Regions from separate parts of the Homo sapiens genome. Here regions 2, 3, 4, 5 and 6 are each linked to region 1. The links are contacts of gene promoters, found by promoter capture Hi-C in blood cells and fetal thymus (Javierre and others, 2016). All regions are on one chromosome and are shown on one strand. The core of a region is centred on a gene start or on the middle of the fragment in contact, and the rest is flanking DNA. Distances in the headings are between cores, read along the strand shown.

Region 1 (2,700 bases), core at 41-2,540:
CCCAGAGCCACCCTGCAAGAGCTCAGGGGAGTCAGGGAACTTGATCTCCTCAGGTCACACCTAGGAAACAACTAGGTCTAGCGGATAAAGAACTCAAGCCCCTGGACTTTCGGATTCTAGTTTGGCTCTAGGTGACCCTGGCCTTGCCTCTCCGAACAATCTCCACATCTGCAAAATGAAAATGTTAAAACTGCCCCCTCCCTGCTTCCATCTTCCAAGATTACCTGCGGAATAACAACTATGTCACTAAAGCTGAGCGTCTTGGATAAATCATGAGAAAAAGATCCTTCTCTCCAATGCATACACCCACATAGCAGAAGGAAAACAGATTCCATAACGAGCTCCCTCCTTTTTTCCCTCAAGAGCCACCGAAAAACTCAGGAGAGAGGGTGGGATGTAGCAGCACGTGACCAAGGCAACGCCAAAGTTTAGCCCGCGGTGACACACCAATGAAAGAGCGGGGCTTTGCTTGCATCTGGCGCTGGGCAGCGGGCAGGGGCCGCATCGTGGCATGCTAGGAACCAGGAGACCTGGGCTCCAGGGGTGTGCGGTACAGGAACGAGGGCATTCCACAGGAGTCACTTTATCCGATGGCATGGATGGTGAGCTTCCGAGGAGCCTGAAAACGCTTCTGGAAAGGCGGAAAGAAAAAAAAGCCCGCTCCAAACTGCAAGATCAGGGATGGCTGCCAGGAGCCCCTCGGCCGGCTCCATCCAGCTGGGGACGGCCGCGCGAGGACCCCGGGCGGCTGCGGAGAGCGCGCGCAGGCGGGACAACGGTCTTTATTTAGGTCGGGGATGAGGACTCCCAGGGGCCTCGAAATAAATACTCAGGGCGTCGGCGTTGGGAGCCCTCTGGGCCAGGGCCTAGGCACGACAGACCTGGGGCAGGGATTCTTTGTTGGCGAGAGGCTTTATTTCTGGCGAGAGACCCCACAATGGACCAATCCAGGGCTGAGAGCAAGAGTCTGAAGACTCGGGGGAAGGCAATGGTCAAGAGCTGGAGACTAGAGCCAGTCCCTGGACTCCCCCTCAGGAGGCATCCCCTTAAGCCGTTCTCTGGGTGCAGACCCCAGACTCCCCTTTCCTTGGCCAAGAATCCAAAGGACGCGCAAGGCCGAGCCCCACGCCCCCTTGCTCCCCACTTTCGGGCCACGGGCCTTCTCGTACTTACCGGGGCCCCGGGGCTGGTCTTCCTCGCCCGCGTCCTCTCCCCTCCCAACCCCCTCCTCACTTCACGTCCCCTCCTCCGGGGGCCGCAGCCATGTCCGTTACTGGCAACTCTAAGGGGGCTTGCCTCCCTTCCGGGCAACAGAGGCGCCGGCCAGAGAGCTAAAGTTCAGGCCACCGATTGGTCAGGATTTGAGAATAGGGGGAATTCTGGCTTCTTATTGGCTACGCGGCGTGCTAGGCTGTAGCTGCAACCGCCCCTCTGGGAGCCTGGCGGAATTAGGTGCCGAGTGATGCGGCCGGGAGAGTGAAGAGCCACTGTCCTTTCCTGTGCGTAAAGCTCAGGCAGTTTCTAGTCCAGAAACCCTGACCAGAGGGCATGGCTTTACCTCCGATTCGTTTTCCTACAGAATTATTCTAAAAAGATAGACGGCGCGCCCCACCTTTTTTCCCTTTCTTTTTAAAATAAGCCCTTTGCAGAGCTCCCCGCCTCTCTTAAGTTCTTCTAAGCTCCCTCCTTGTTGCCTTGAACAAATGCCTAGAGGCTGCCCGCTCCGAGAGGCCTTGGAGGGACTCCCTCAGGACGAATATTGCGTCCAAACCAAATCTAGAAAATCTAAGGCAATACTGCAATTCCCCCCTCCCGCTTCCAGCTCGGCTGAAATCTAAAGGGAAAAACAAGTTAAATTTTTTTTCTAGGTAATTAGATAAATCGCCTGGGAGACCTCTCTTGGGAAAACAAAGCAAGCCTGTGTCAGTATTTACTTCTCTTTTCCCAGAGATCTAAGTCTGGAAGGCTTGTTTAAAAAAAACAAAAACAAAAAAACAAACAAAAACTTGTTTATATAATTGGGAAAGAGCTGAGGTTGGCCTTGTGAAGTAAGAGCCCCTTCCCACATTCATGAGTTTAATTACGTAATTAAAATCCCTTTCTCAGCTGGACAAGAAGATGGCATTTTAGTACCTAATCTTGTATGACCCAGTTTAGCTGTTGCCTAAAACGCCATAAGAATCATGTCACTAACCTGCACACAAAAACTGATAGTTCACCTTTGCAAATAGGTCCAAATCTTTCTGCCTGATGTTCAAAGTCCTTCATAAATTGACTCAGACATACGTTTCCAGGTCTAAGTCCCCACAGGCTAAACTATTCCTGCAGCCACATAGATTAACCACCATTCTTTAAACGTGACAGAGACCTTTCCACCTCTGCTCCTTCGTCACATGGTTGGTTCCCTACGCTTTGCTTTAAAGGTTCTTTTTTTCTTTTTTTTTTTGAGACGGAGTTTCGCTCTTGTCGCCTAGGCTGGAGGGCAATGGCTTGATCTCGGCTCACTGCAACCTTCACCTCCCGGGTTCAAGTGATTCTCTTGCCACGGCCTCCGGAGTAGCTGGGATTACAGGTGCCTGCCACCATACCCAGCTAATTTTTGTATTTTTAGTAGAGACAGGGTTTGAACATGTTGGCCAGGCTGGTCTCAAACTCCTGAGCTCAGGTGATCCACCTGCCTCGGCCTGCCAAAGTGCTGTG
Region 2 (2,769 bases), core at 264-2,763, 140 kb before region 1:
ATCAAAGGCACTTTCCACGGGCAGGGATCGCGAGACCTGGCCATAGGGCGTCTCCTGGAGGGCAGAGGAGGCACAGCTGGTGTGTCAGGCCTGCAGCCCTCATGGTGCTTACTCAGCCTGTGGGTCAGCCAGGCCAGGCCCCTCTCCCCAGGACCCTCGGGCTCACCGTGACCCTCCTGGTGACAGCCCCCTCCAGGCACTCTGGTGGTACCCGCAGCAGTCGGGCTGCTGTGTGGATCTCAGCCCAGCTAGACACAGCAGCCACCTCCTGGGACTCTCGCTACACAGAGAGGGAGGGACAGGGAGATCTCTGCTTCAGGAATGGACACACTCCCCAGGCAGGGCAGGCCGGGCTTTGCCTGGTAAGTGGCCCTGTCACCAAAGGGGAGATATGTCACATGAGGAGATCTGGGCCATTAGGAGCGAGGCTATGGTTTTCAGGGCCCTGAGTTCGAGTCCTACTTTCCCTCTTTGCTGGCGGACAGTTCTGGCCAGGCTCCTTCCTTCCTGCGCCCCACGGCCTCACTGCTAAAGGGGAAGCAGTAACCCTTCCTAGGGGGTTGTCTTGCAAACTAAATTAGAAAACAAATGCAAAGTGATTTACACAGTACCCAGGTACATAACAGCTGCTCGTTTGATTTTTTTTTTTCTTTTTTTTTTTTTTTGAGACAGGGTCTCACTCTGTTACCCAGGCCTGAATGCAGTGGCACGATCAAGGCTCACTGCAGCCTCCACCTCCCAGGATCAGGTAATTCTTCCACCTCAGCCTCCCCAGTAGCTGGGATTACAGGCACATGCCACCATGCCCAGCTAATCTTTTTTTTTTTTTTCTTCTGAGACTGAGTCTCGCTCTTGTTGCTCAGGCTGGAGTGCAATGGCATAGTCTTGGCTCACTGCAACCTCCACCTCCCAGGTTCAAGCAATTCTCCTGTCTCAGCCTCCTAAGTAGCTGGGATTATAGGCATGTGCCACCACACCTGGCTAATTTTGTATTTTTAGTAGAGACGGGGTTTCACCATATTGGTCAGGCTGGTCTCGAACTCCTGACCTCAGGTGATCCGCCCATCTAGGCCTCCCAGTGTGCTGGGATTACAGGCATGAGCCACCACGCCCAGTCTGTTTTGTTTTTTTTTTTTTTTCTGAGACGGAGTCTCGCTCTGTCACCTAGGCTGGATGGAGTACAGTGGCGCAACCTCAGGTCACTGCCACCTCCACCTCCCGGGTTCAAGCAATTCTCCTGCCTCAGCTTCTCTAAGTAGCTGGGATGTGCCACCACATCCAGGCACGTGTCACCACACCCAGCTAATTTTTGTATTTTTAGTAGAGACAGGGTTTCAGCATGTTGGCCAGGCTGGTCTCAAACTCCTGACTTCAAGTGATCTGCTCGCCTTGGCCTAATCTGTTCATATTTTTTGTAGAGACAAGATTTTGCCATGTTGCCCAGGCTGCTCTAGAATTCCTGGGCTCAAGTGATCCACCCACCTCGGCCTCCCAAAGTGCTAGGATTACAGGTGTGAGCCACCACCGCCAACCCTTTTTTTTTTTTTTTTTTTTTTTAATAGAGACGGGGTTTCTCTATGTTGCCTAGGCTGGTCTCAAACTCCTGGCTTCACACGATCCTCCTGCCTCGGCCTCCCAAAGTGCTGGGATCACAGGTGTGACCCACCATGCCTGACCATAGCTGCTCATCTAATGCCAGATGTTCTTAGGGGTGGCAGCTTAGAGGCACAGACATTGGGAGAGTGGAGAAGCTCTATGTCTCAGCTTTCTCATCTACACAGTGGGGATCTACCCACTTTTCAGGGCAGCCCAGCACTCTGTAGTCTCCTACACACCAGCATTTGGCGTCATTACCACTGCCCTGATTCTACAGACCCAGCACCCCAGATGGCCCCTGCCCACGGGGAAGCCCACCTCTGAGGAGGAGAAGCAGATGTTGCCCAGCTGCAGGATGGCGGCCAGCACAGCCCAGACGGCATTCAACTCCTCTGGGCACAAGCCGAGCCCCTGCAGTGCCTTCAGCAGCCCCTCAAAGTCCTGGGCATCCTCCTTGCCTTGCAGCCTGCAGGCCTGGCCCTGCAGAGCACAGCAGGGGTGAGGGAGCGGGGCCTGCCACCCCATAGCCTCCCTCTACTCCGGCTACTCCTCAGACCTCCGGGCCGAGATCCTCCTCTGGGCAGGCCTCCCCGCCGCACCACAAGGGCTCCCCCGACCTGGTTGAGGTAGTAGTAAGTCTCCGGTCCCTGCAGGGAGAGCCGCTCCCGCTCTATGGAGTCCAGCCCTGCCAGCAGCTTGTAAAAAACATGGAAGCTCCGCTCAGCCTGGGCCTTGGGGACAGGACTGGCTTAGGGGCTCAGTGCCCTAGGGGCTTAGAGGCCACACCCCGACAGTGACACCCTCTGCCCTTCCTACTCTGGGAACTGGGCAGGGGTGGATAGAAGGGCTGCCTTTACCTGAAACACCACCCTGGAGGTCTCAAGTAGATAATGAGACACAGAGGCTCCCACGATGACCCCTCTGTGGGCACAGAAGATGGGTGTGAGTGCCCAGGATGCAGAACACCCAGGGGCCCCGTGCAGAAGAAGCCCTACCAGGGTCTGGACCCCAGGGAAGCAGCCCAAGGACCCAGGAAGGGTAAGTGATTGTAGGTGCCCCCTGCAACCCTGCCACTCACTGCTGTAGGTAGAGGCAGAAGACCTGGCCGAAGCGGCTGGCATTGGCATTGAGGATGGTCTTGGCATGGCCAAAGCTGCTGAGTATAGGCAGCAT
Region 3 (2,813 bases), core at 32-2,531, 220 kb before region 1:
TAGCCACTGAGGCAGAGAACCACTCACCCGGCTGGGCCTCCAGAGGAGGCTAAGTGAGGACTTGTCAAGGCCCCCACTCTGGAACTCTTAAGACAATCTACTGCCACAGTTCCCAGACTACTACCTGGGGTAACCCAGCAAACTCACAAAGGTGCCACAGGATATTTAACAAAACTGTTACAGGAAACACAGCCTTACTCCACATGTCACATACCACACACACTTACACATATTATTTTTTTAAGCAGCTACTGAATTGTGAGGACAGTAATACTTAGTGTCTGAAGCTAATGACATAAGAAACAGAACCATTCGTTAGGCATTTTTTCTTCTTTTTTTCAGACAGGGTCTTGGTTTGCTGCCCAGGCTGGAGTGCAGTGGTACAGATCTCGGCTCACAGCAACCTCTGCCTCCCAGGATCAAATGATCCTCCCATCTCAGCCTCCCAAGTACCTGGGACTACAGGCACACACTACCATGCCTGGCTAACTTTTGTAGTTTCTGTAGAGACGGGTTTCACCATGTTGCCCAGGCTGGTCTCAAACTCCTGTGCTCAAGCAATTCTCCTGCCTCGGGCATCCCCAAGTGCTGGGATTACAGGCTTGAGCTACCACACTCAGCCATTAGGCATTTCTTTTTGTTCCAGAGGTCTGTGAAAAACTATGGAGACATGAAGGGCAGTGAGCCGAGAAATCGTGGCGCCTTCTAACCTACAGGATAAGGGCGTATAATCAGACTTAGTTACACTGAAAAGGCCAAGCACTGCTAACAAGTGCATTGTATACTGCGAAAAGCACCTTCATGTACATTCTCTCACGCCGCAGTCACAACCACCTTGCAAAGGGGGTCTCACGGCCCTGACTGCCCAAATGGAGCCGAGTGAAGCTTAAGTTACAGGCCTGTGGTTCCACAGCCAGAGGGAAGCCAGGCCAGGGCACAACCCAGGTCTTCGGACCACAAGTCCACCAGACCGGCTCTAAATTGTTTGTGAGCTCCACATTTTAGTACTACTTTAGGGATCTTAGAATTTTAAAAATGTCTTCTCTTAACTGGGGTTATACACGCCTTTTTAAAAAATGCCAGAACAATTCCCCCCAACCCCCACCTGATGCCACCTCCTTGACCCAGAAGACGGAATTTTGTTTTCACAGATGTACACTCCTGGGCTGGGAGGATTCTTTTCCTAGATCAGAGCGTGAGATCTAGATCTTTTCCTAGATCAGCACCTCAGGGAGGCCGGCGATCCCAGTCCCTCCCAGTCAGCTGGCAATAGGCTGCTCCATCTTTCTTGCTCCAGGCTCTCAACCCCCATGTTTGTTTTCAAAGGAAGGGTGTGTCAGGGACAGTGAGTGAATGGAAACAGCTTCATCCACAGGAACTGTAGGAGTGGAGAAAAAAATAAACAAGGGAAACCGTCCAGAGCAAACGAGGTAAAAATGGACAAAGGAGAGTGGCGAAAGGGATGTTCGGGTGCCAAAGGTAAACAGGGGGAGGAAGCACTTCAGCCACCAGGCACTCCTTTCCCGGAGTGAGGTGCTGGCCCCAGGACTGTCACGTCTGCTCTTTTTCCAGAACAGCAGTGCCACCTCCTGTTAATTTGCTGCTTACCGAAGAGACAAGATCAGAAACTTGAAGTTAGAGACGAAAAAATAATGGAACACAGGAAACAAAGCTTGTTTCCTATGCAACGCCCAGCCTCCTTCTCCAATCTCCTGTTCGCTAGTTTGGGGCAAACTCAGCACCTGCAGAGCCCAATCCCTGCTGCCCCAACCTAAAGGACAGGACCAAGTCTCTCTGCCCAGGTGGGCCAGAGTTAGTTCTTACTCACGCTCCCAAACATGGGACTCTGTGCTCACAGGTAACCCCAAACATCAGAGCAATAAAAACCAGGGCAATTCCAGTCTGTGCATATTTTAAAGTCATCAGATAACAAAGTTAGAGAATACTCAACTTTGCTTATGTATAATGCCCAAGTCCTTTCCTAGGGGGTTCCCAGGGAACTCCCTGGAGTTTAATCCAACCTCTACCAACAGATTTTATGATGTTGATGACAAGTCGTTTCTTACAACTTGCCTGAAGGCCGGGCATGGTGGTTCACACCTGTAATCCCAGCACTTTGGGAGGCCGAGGCAGGCAGATCACGAGGTCAGGAGATCGAGACCATCCTGGCTAACATGGTGAAACCCTGTCTCTACTAAAAATACAAAAAATTAGCCAGGTGTGGTGGCGGGCGCCTGTAGTCCCAGGTACTACTCGGGAGGCTGAGGCAGGAGAATGGCGTGAACCTGGGAGGCGGAGCTTGCAGTGAGCTGAGATGGAGCCACTGCACTCCAGCCTGGGCGACAGAACGAGACTCCGTCTCAAAAAAAAAAAAAAAAAAAACTTGCCTGAAAAACCTCTAGAAACAGGGAGCTCACTACCTTATGAAACAGCTCAACCCACTTGTGGCCGGAGATCACAAAAGGTCCTTCGTTATATGAAGGTAAACTTCTGTGGAATTCTGCGCGCGGCTTCAGGTCTGCCTCAGGCTGCCTTAGCCTTTCCCTCAGCAGACCTTCAAACACCAGAGCGCAACCCCGGCTCTTCCCGAGTCTTCTGTCTTCCAGCTCTACCTTTCCCTCAGGTGATGTGCTTTTGAGTCCCCTCACCTTTATGACTGCTCTTCTGAGAGCACTCCAGTTTAAAACATGGAATCTGCTCTTCCAAAACCGGCCGACAACATGGTATGACCAGCCTGGGAAGTGTGCACAGGTGGAACTGGAAGTGATGGTCAGTTCAGCCAATGCTACTGAACAAACACACACCAGACATAC
Region 4 (2,700 bases), core at 163-2,662, 200 kb before region 1:
CTTTGAATTGGATAAGGGTGCAGAGGTCTTCCTGGTGGGAAGGCCTGGAGCTGTTGTTGCTCAGCTGTGGGGACCACCTGCTATTGCCCTACTCCCCTCTAGTGGGAGCCAAAGGGAAGGCTGGCTGATGAGTGTCTGCGGATTGAGGATGTGGCAGGGACTGGTGCCCCCACCTCCCTCCGCCCCACCACCAAAGATGGGGCTCTGCCTGCTGTGTGCCTGTCACCAGCAACCGGCAGTCATGCCTTGGGTTTCCCAGGTGGAGAGGTGGCAGGCAACATTTTAAAAAGAAAACAGGAAACTATATTGTGTGGGGGAGGCAGGAGTGGAGATGAGAAAACAGTTTGGATTTTGTGAGAGGGGCTTTGGGGGAGTTTGGTAGTTGTTGGTAACTTAAGTGCTTTTTCTTCCTTTTAAGTTAGTTGCAGGCTTTGGTTTGGAAAGCCCCAGGGAAGTGGGGTGGGGGACAGAAACCTGAGGCTCTTGCCCCTTTATCTGCCTTCACAGTACCATCTCCTTCCCCCAGCTTTACCCTGCGCTCAGGAGCCAGGCCTCAGCGCTTCCTGCTATCCACTTCCCATAAGCCACTCCTCTGATATTAGTCCATAGCCAAAGGAGCTGTGGGTCCAGGCCTGGTGACCAGCCCAGCTCAGCCCGCTCATTCAGGGTGCTCCCTACCTGCAGGCAGGAGGCAACACCCTGTCTGCTACCATTAGCACCTTCCAGAGCCCACCTCCCCTGCCCAGCCGTACCCTGCTCTGCCCCATCTGGGATGCTGTGCTCAGGCATGAGCTGGCAGGGCCGCACACAGCCTCCCTGGTAAGTAGAGACTCAGGAAACCTTTGGGGTCCTCCTGTTTTCTGGTTGTGTGATCCAAGTGGTGCACACTGGCCCCTTGGGTGCCAACTGAAGGGCTTGGGAATCTTGCTCTCCTGGTGTAGCTGGCAGCTGCCCACCCCCACCCCACATGGGTTTCTGAGTCGGCAGGTCAAGCATTATTTTATTTTATTTTATTATTTTATTTGAGATGGAGTCTTGCTCTGTTGCCCAGGCTGGAGTGCAGTGCCACGATCTCAGCTCACTGCAGCCTCTGCCTCCCGGGTTCAAGTGATTCTCCTGCCTCAGCCTCCTGAGTACCTGGGATCACAGACATGCACCACCATGCCTGGCTAATTTTTGTATTTTTAGTAGAGATGGAGTTTCAACATGTTGGCAAGGCCGGTCTCGAACTCTTGACCCCAGGTGATCCGCCCACCTCAGTCTCCCAAAGTGCTGGGATTACAGGTTTTAAATTGTATTTTAAATTCATGTTTTAAGCTTATCAAGAAGAGTCACTTAACCTTTTAATATATCTCCCTCCAATATACACAGAAGTATATGTGTTCATATTTGTTAAGTTCACAACATTTGTGCGTGTATTTACTATTATTAAAATAGGTGATATTATATAGCGCTTCCTAAATGCCAGTCTGTGGGCCCTTTGCATGAGAACCTCCTGAGAAGCTTTTCGGAAACTCTCAAAAGCTCATCCCAGAAAATTCAGTTCAGTAGTCTGGGGGTTATGATACATAGTCAGGTTTGGGGACACTTTTGTAAATGGCTTTATTACTGTCATTTAATATTTTTCTCCCTTGTTACTTTTTTTTGTTTTTGAGACGGAGTGCAGTGGCATGATCTCAGCTTGCTGAAACCTCCACCTCCTGGGTTCAAGTGATTCTTCTGCCTCAGTCTCCCAAGTAGCTGGGACTACAGGCATGCGCTGCCACACCTGGCTAATTTTTTTGTATTTTTAGTAGAGACAGGGTTTCACCATGTAGGTCAGGCTGGTCTCGAACTCCTGACCTCAAATGATCCTCCTGGCTCAGCCTCCCAAAGTGCTGGGATTACAGCCGTGAGCCACCGCACTCGGCCTCCTCATTACTTTTTGTGGCTCTAAGGTAGTCCAATTCTATAAGACTTGCTAAGTGGTCATTTTTTGTCCCCAGGAAAAGAGAGGAAACAAAGCATCTGATAAAGCCACTATCATGGCCTTTGATGCCCTGGTGACCTTCTGTGAAGAACTGGGGTAAGTGACTTATTTTATATGTGGAGCAAAGTGTCAGTGAGATCATTTACTTCCCCGGCACGCCCTAGTTAAGCAGCTGACATAAGACAGCCCGTAGGCTACCAAGGGACACCTGCCTGCAAAGGCTGTTGTGTCGGGCAGTGTGGAAGTCAGGACCTTGCTCTTCTCTATTGGAGGCCCCGGGATCTCTCGCAGTGTGGGGATTTGCTCAGTATTCTGAGTGGTGTCCTTCCCTCCACTCCACCCTCTTCTGGGATGGCTGGCCCCACAAGCCACTCAGTTCCAAGGGATGTGACCAGCTCTGAGCCATCGGCTTTGTGGTCATCATGTGCCACCGAGCTGGGACTTCTGGCATCACTTGAGTAGTCCTCACCCTTATCCAGGACCCACACAGAAGCCTGTGGCCCCACTTACCTCGGGGAGTCATGTGCTTTGAACTCACGCATCTGTTTTACCTGCATCTGCAGGCGATGGGGCAGGGGCCACGGAAAGAGTCTGAGGGCTGCTTGGTGTAGTCAGGTTGTGTCCAGGCATGCGGAGCTGTGAGTGCCTGCAGGAGAGACACCCAGGAGGAGTTTTTACATTTTGGTCTAAAAAGCTCTTGGATTCATCTCATCTCATGGAATGATCCTGTC
Region 5 (2,700 bases), core at 21-2,520, 180 kb before region 1:
CAGTGAGTGGGCCAAGCCCCTGAAAGGACACAGATGGGCAGAGTCCTGCTGCATCCTGGGGGCGCCGCATGCTGGCTGGGCAGACCCTGCGCTGACCTCGACAGGGCTCTGCCCTAATCCTGGGAAAAAGGGAGGCTCAGCAGGCCGGCAGCCATTCTCTCCCAAGCTGGACAGCCAAATCCCTCTTTTAAGCCCCCTGAATAAAAGAGCTGAAATGAACTTGCAGAATAAGCAGGCCCTCGGGGCCCCTCTGCTGCACAGCAGGCGGAGCAGGAGGCGCTCTGAGCAGAGCCCCCAGCCCTCCCCTAGTGCAGGGTCCCAGCAGCAGGGAGAGTGCAGGTGTGTGCAGGAGGCTGGCTGACTTCCCTGCAGGGAAGCGACCCAGCATGTCCCCGAAGACCTCTCCGTGTTTATGGTAGACTGTGGCCCTTCACCCTGGGGGCAGGGGACCCTTGCTGCTCCCTCCCTGTCCCCCCTTCTTCTGTGGCCATTGCCACTCACCTGGGAGCTCAGGTGTTGGGGGCTGAGCAGCAGTGCCCCAGCGCGGAGCCTCCACGTGCTGTCCTCGTACTTCCTTCGTGGGCGCCGCTGCTCCCCTGGGCGCCTCAGCCCAGCTCCTCTGCTGACAGCCAGCTGCTGTCTCTGCCTGGCTTTTTTGTTGTTGGTCGTCCTGGAGATCCAAGTGTCAAATTACCGTCGCGAGGGGGAGCCCGAGGAAGCCCTGCTTGGGAACTTGTCCTCCAACTTCATGTCCCGGTGCCTCACCTCTGCCCTGAGAGCGCTGCTCAGGGACAAGACAAGCTCCCTCTCTCCTCCTCCTTCCTCCTCCTCTCCCTCTCCCCGACTCCCACGCCGTGGGCTGGGCCTGGGTTGGGAGCTGAAGAAAGAAGTCGGCTCTCTGCCTTCCTGGCCAGGAGGACCCTGGGGAGGCTCCACCTGAGCCTGTGGAGGGGAGTCCTGCAGCGCTCTCAGGTCTGGGGCACCCACCCTGCCCTCAGGAAGGCCACCCCTTCTGTCCCTCTGGCCACTCCCTGGCTGGTCCCTCCCTCTGGCCTCTCTCAGGAACAACAGTAAACAGTGGGGAGCTGGTGGCCCTCTCAAGCTGAGCAGGAGGCTTTGCAACCAGTCCCTGGGGAGGCCCTTGTGCCGCTCAGCATCTGAAGGCGTCTTGGGGGAGAACTTGGAATCCTGAGTGACCTGGGAGTGGCCTGCGCGCCCGGCAAGGCGCCTCATGTTCCTTGTGAGGTGAGGGCCTTCTGCTGGGGCTGTGACCGCACTCCTGGCCCAGCTGTCAGGGCAGGGCTCCAGAGTCCAGGGGCCGGGCCCTGTGACATTTGCCTGGTTGTGCCTCCCAGCAGGCTAGGCTGTGTGGAGAGAAACCGACCCCAGCCCCGCTGTCAATGGAGCTCTTTGAGTCCGAGCACAAAACCCCAGTGAGTCAGGGCCTGAGGAGGGCAGGGGGAGGAAGCCAGCCATGTGGTCACACCACTCGGATGCCAGAGCCTCCCAGAGGCTGGACAGGCGGCCGCTGTGCGGGCGCACGGACTCCTGGGGATGAACCATTTGTTGCATTTACTCATTGGAGCAGAGTGGGGGCAGGAGCGCCCTCTGGTGGCCGCCTCGGCTGTCCCAGCCCAGGTCAGGCTTCAGAGCTGCATTCACTCAGCTAAAAGAAAGTCAGCCAGGCCCTGCTTCCTTACCGGGGTGTTGCAATCAGCCTTGCATCCTTGAGCCTGCGCCTTGGGGTCGCAGCCCCTCAAAGGGCTTCTTGCAGCCGCAGCAGTGCTCACACTGGGAGGAGTTCTAGTTAGAGCAGTTAATGCCAGCTATTCTTGTCCCTGGGATGTGGCACCCCAGACAGCCCTGCCTGTGTTCCAGCATCTCCTCTTGGGCTTCCCTACCCTGTGCCACGTTCCTGGTGGCAGGAATGGCTGTTTATAAGGAGCCTGAGAGAGCTATGGCCCCTCTTGCGGCCTCTGCAGCTGCCCCAAGGGTCGACAGCCACCCCCATGCAGAGGGAACAGAGATGCGACAGAGCCTCGTGGGCCAGCCAGAGGCTGCTCCCTGCTCCCAGCATGGGCAGAGGCCGCTCACCCCAGGAGGGCTGCAGCAGGGTTGAGACAGAGGAAGACGAGAGGAGGACTCCAGGCGAGGCTGCGTCTCCCTGGCTAAAGGCCCCACCTGTGACACCCTCACGGGTTGATGATGGGACATATTACTACACAGCCGTGCCTGCCTTAGCAATGCAAATACGTTTTGAGAAATTTAACTTGTCATTGTGCGGTCACAGAGTATACTTAGGGAAATCAAACAGCAATTCCAGGGAAGAGAAGGAAAAAAATATCAAGCGGCACAGCCTCCTACACACCCAGGCCATGCGCTACAGCTTGTTGCTCCTAGACCACAAACCTGTACATCACGTTACTGTCCTGAGTACCGTATGCAGTTGTAACACAGTGGTATTCACATATCTAAGCACACATAAGCATAGAAAAAGTACAGTAGAAATACAGTGTTAGAATCGTAGGGGACCACCATTGGCTGTGCAGTCATTCCATGGGGCATGACTGTACTGTAATGCACTTCAGACATCACCTCAGCCATCTTCGCTCAGTCCGTGAGGGCTGTGCCTTTCTGCACCATCTTACTGACGGGAATGCATGGGCTTTAGGAGGTGAAGTGTGTCACCCAAAAGACACC
Region 6 (2,706 bases), core at 144-2,643, 250 kb after region 1:
CTAAAGTTAATATCCACAAACCCATACTGCCATTAATTGTTGCAGATGAAATCTACTGGTCAGACCTTGTCTCAAAAAAATAAAAAAGATACATAAATGTATTTACTGGCCAGGCCCGGTGGCTCAGGCGTGTAATCCCAGCACTTTGGGAGGTGAAAGTGGGCAGATCACCTGAGGTCAGGTGTTTGAGACCAGCCTGGCCAACCTGGTGAAACCCTGTCTCTACTAAAAATACAAAAATCCCAGCTACTCAGGAGGCTGAGGCAGGAGAATCTCTTGAACCCGGCAGGCGGAGGTTGCAGTGAGCCAAGATCATGCCATTGCACTCCAGCCTGGGCGACAGAGTGAGACTCCATCTGAAAAAAAAAAAAAAAGAATAAGACAGGGTCCCCTGCCAGCAAGGAATTACAGGACTTTTGACATGTTTTTTTCCTAGAAGTGACAATAGATTTCTCAAACTCACCAATATTCTCCACTAGAGTCCCTTAAATCCAATAATCAGGCCAGGTGCAGTGGCTCACTCCTATAATCCCAGCACTTTGGGACGCTGAGGTGGGCAGATCACTTGAGGTCAGGAGTTCAAGACCAGCCCAGCCAAAATGATGAAACCCCATCTCTACTAAAAATGCAAAAATTAGCCAGGCGTGGTGGCACGCACCTGTAATCCCAGCTACTCAGGAGGCTGAGGCAGGAGAATGGCTTCAACCCAGGAGGCAGAGGCTGCAGTGGGCCAAGATTGCGCCACTGCACTCCAGCCTGGGTGACAGAGTGAAACTCTGTCTCAAAAAAAAAAAAAAAAACAGGGCCAGGCACAGTGGCTCACGTCTGTAATCCCAGCACTTTGGGAGGCCGAAGCAGGTGGATCACGAGGTCACGAGATCGAGACCATCCTGGCTAACACGGTGAAACCCCGTCTCTACTAAAAATACAAAAAATTAGCCGGATGTGGTGGCAGGCGCCTGTAGTCCCAGCTACTCGGGAGGCTGAGGCAGGAGAATGGCGTGAATCCAGGAGGCAGAGCTTACAGTGAGCGGAGAACGCGTCACTGCACTCCAGCCTGGGTGACAGAGCGAAACTCTGCCTCGAAAAAAAACAGAAAAACAACCAATAATCACTCTTGCACACACTCACACAGAAGCTGACCTGAGTCTTGTCCAGAATGATTCATTTGTGAAAAGCTTATCAAAGAAGTAACATACCAACACTGCCCATTCCCTAGCCATCCATGTGAAGGGACGCTGACAAAAATCTAACACAGGAGTTCTTAAACTTCAGTGTGCTGGAGATTTTAAGATCCAACCACGGAGATTTTGATTTTGATGATCTGAGGTGGGTCCCAAAAGTCTACAATTAACAAGTACCACTCTGATAATGATGAAGTTATGAACTACAATTCAAGAAAATCCTAATCTATAAATAGTACGAGAGTTTTCTGGTCTGTTGTCAAATAACGTCTGAACCATAATTTTTTAGAGACAAAACTGTTAGGTTTATATTAATTTTCAAATCTCCCAACAATGTGACCTCATTCAACGACTCTCACATGCTTGTGTGGCCTAAATTTTCTTCTTTAGAGGCTAAGTAAAATATGAATATAAATAAAGCTTGTCAAGCCAGCCCATCAATAGCATTTGCATATTCCCGCTAAGTCTTCCCATCACTGCTAATGTACACTGTCCAGTACTCATGCCTCAACTAGAACCAGGAGTCTCTTATTTCTTTACGCAACCCATAAAACACACAAAAAGACAACAATGTACTTCATTTGGCTTTCCACAGTGTAGTGTGGGCTTCAACACCAAACAGCAACCAACTTACTGAGATTTTCTGGATTTTCCAGTCAACTCTTCGTCAATTCTCTGGAGGCCCAGAAAGATTCCATGGGATTCATTGAAGAGTTTTCTCAAGATTTGAGAGTAAACATCTACATCCTTACGGATGATATAGATAAAGGGGCAACTTGGCACCATCTCTGATTTTTCTGAAACCAAACAGAAAAAAAAAATTTAACATCTATTATGATCATCTCCAAAAGTGAATCTACTCTAAAAAAATTTTCTGTGGCCGGGCATGGTGGCTCTTGCCTATAATCCCAGCACTTTGGGAGGCCAAGGCAGGCAGATCACGAGGTCAGGAATTCGAGACCAGGCTGGCCAACATAGCAAAACCCTGTCTCTACTAAAAATACAAAAATTAGCTGGGCGTGGTGGCACATGCCTTCATTCCCAGCTACTCAGGAGACTGAGGCAGGAGAATTGCTTCAAACCGGGAGGCGGAGGTGGCAGTGAGCCGAGATCACACCACTGCATTCCAGCCTGGACAGAGCGAGACTCCGTCTCAAAAAAAAAAAAAAAAAAAGAAAGCAAATCAAATGTCAAGATTCCAGTTTTATCCTTCTACTGGAAGGAGACTGTATCACTGTATCAGGAAAAGAAAAAGATTCACATCCTATCCAATAGCTGATGGAACTCAGGAAAATCAAGCCAAGGACAAGCTATGTCACTCTCCAGCTCCATCTGTGCCTTGGATGCTACGGCTCAGCTCAGCCTACAGAACTATTATTCAGCTGAATCCATGCTGTGGACACAAAAGTGACGGCCAAGCATCTGCAAGGTTCACAATAAGGGAGCTACTGATAGGAATTTGGTCACTTTGGACAAAGAAAAAGGGATAAAAAGCTTGACATTTTAAATATGAAGAAAATTT

The links. The method cuts DNA at HindIII sites, captures the fragments that hold promoters and counts their contacts. A CHiCAGO score of 5 or more calls a contact.
Region 2: a fragment that was not itself captured here is called in contact with the fragment with the promoter of TMEM94 in region 1 in 4 of 17 cell types (megakaryocytes, endothelial precursors, M1 macrophages and 1 more); the score reaches 6.3 in megakaryocytes.
Region 3: a fragment that was not itself captured here is called in contact with the fragment with the promoter of TMEM94 in region 1 in 1 of 17 cell types (endothelial precursors); the score reaches 5.9 in endothelial precursors.
Region 4: a contact is called between a fragment that was not itself captured here and the fragment with the promoter of TMEM94 in region 1, in 2 of 17 cell types (M1 macrophages and endothelial precursors). The highest score is 6.1, in M1 macrophages.
Region 5: the fragment with the promoter of SMIM5 here is called in contact with the fragment with the promoter of TMEM94 in region 1 in 2 of 17 cell types (erythroblasts and endothelial precursors); the score reaches 8.4 in erythroblasts.
Region 6: a fragment that was not itself captured here is called in contact with the fragment with the promoter of TMEM94 in region 1 in 1 of 17 cell types (endothelial precursors); the score reaches 5.1 in endothelial precursors.

The regions. Positions count from the first base shown.
Region 1 is chr17:75,455,225-75,457,924 of GRCh38, reverse strand. It overlaps TMEM94 (transmembrane protein 94), which reads right to left and starts at 1,290. Exons shown (of 32, transcript NM_014738.6): 1 at 1,174-1,290. RefSeq lists a silencer at 1,234-1,393 and an enhancer at 1,544-1,593. The HindIII fragment of the contact is 5,875 bases long and covers 1-2,700 here.
Region 2 is chr17:75,591,986-75,594,754 of GRCh38, reverse strand. MYO15B (myosin XVB) reads right to left here. Exons shown (of 64, transcript NM_001395058.1): 6 at 2,675-2,769; 7 at 2,454-2,517; 8 at 2,214-2,327; 9 at 1,915-2,076; 10 at 167-280; 11 at 1-54. Among named protein-coding and RNA genes, the nearest start is that of MYO15B, 5.6 kb to the right of the region's middle. The HindIII fragment of the contact is 5,609 bases long and covers 1-2,769 here.
Region 3 is chr17:75,678,561-75,681,373 of GRCh38, reverse strand. The region is part of intron 3 of SAP30BP (SAP30 binding protein); the gene reads right to left. Among named protein-coding and RNA genes, the nearest start is that of SAP30BP-AS1, 4.8 kb to the left of the region's middle. The HindIII fragment of the contact is 787 bases long and covers 888-1,674 here.
Region 4 is chr17:75,650,551-75,653,250 of GRCh38, reverse strand. It overlaps RECQL5 (RecQ like helicase 5), which reads left to right. Exons shown (of 20, transcript NM_004259.7): 8 at 1,986-2,065. LOC107985013 (a long non-coding RNA gene) reads right to left here and starts at 2,615. Exons shown (of 3, transcript XR_001753017.1): 1 at 2,480-2,615. The HindIII fragment of the contact is 186 bases long and covers 1,320-1,505 here.
Region 5 is chr17:75,632,004-75,634,703 of GRCh38, reverse strand. It overlaps SMIM5 (small integral membrane protein 5), which reads right to left and starts at 1,270. Exons shown (of 3, transcript NM_001162995.3): 1 at 502-1,270. The region is part of intron 8 of RECQL5 (RecQ like helicase 5); the gene reads left to right. RefSeq lists enhancers at 838-1,517, 1,518-2,198. The HindIII fragment of the contact is 11,256 bases long and covers 1-2,700 here.
Region 6 is chr17:75,209,098-75,211,803 of GRCh38, reverse strand. NUP85 (nucleoporin 85) reads right to left here. Exons shown (of 19, transcript NM_024844.5): 3 at 1,819-1,981. Among named protein-coding and RNA genes, the nearest start is that of NUP85, 4.8 kb to the right of the region's middle. The HindIII fragment of the contact is 426 bases long and covers 1,181-1,606 here.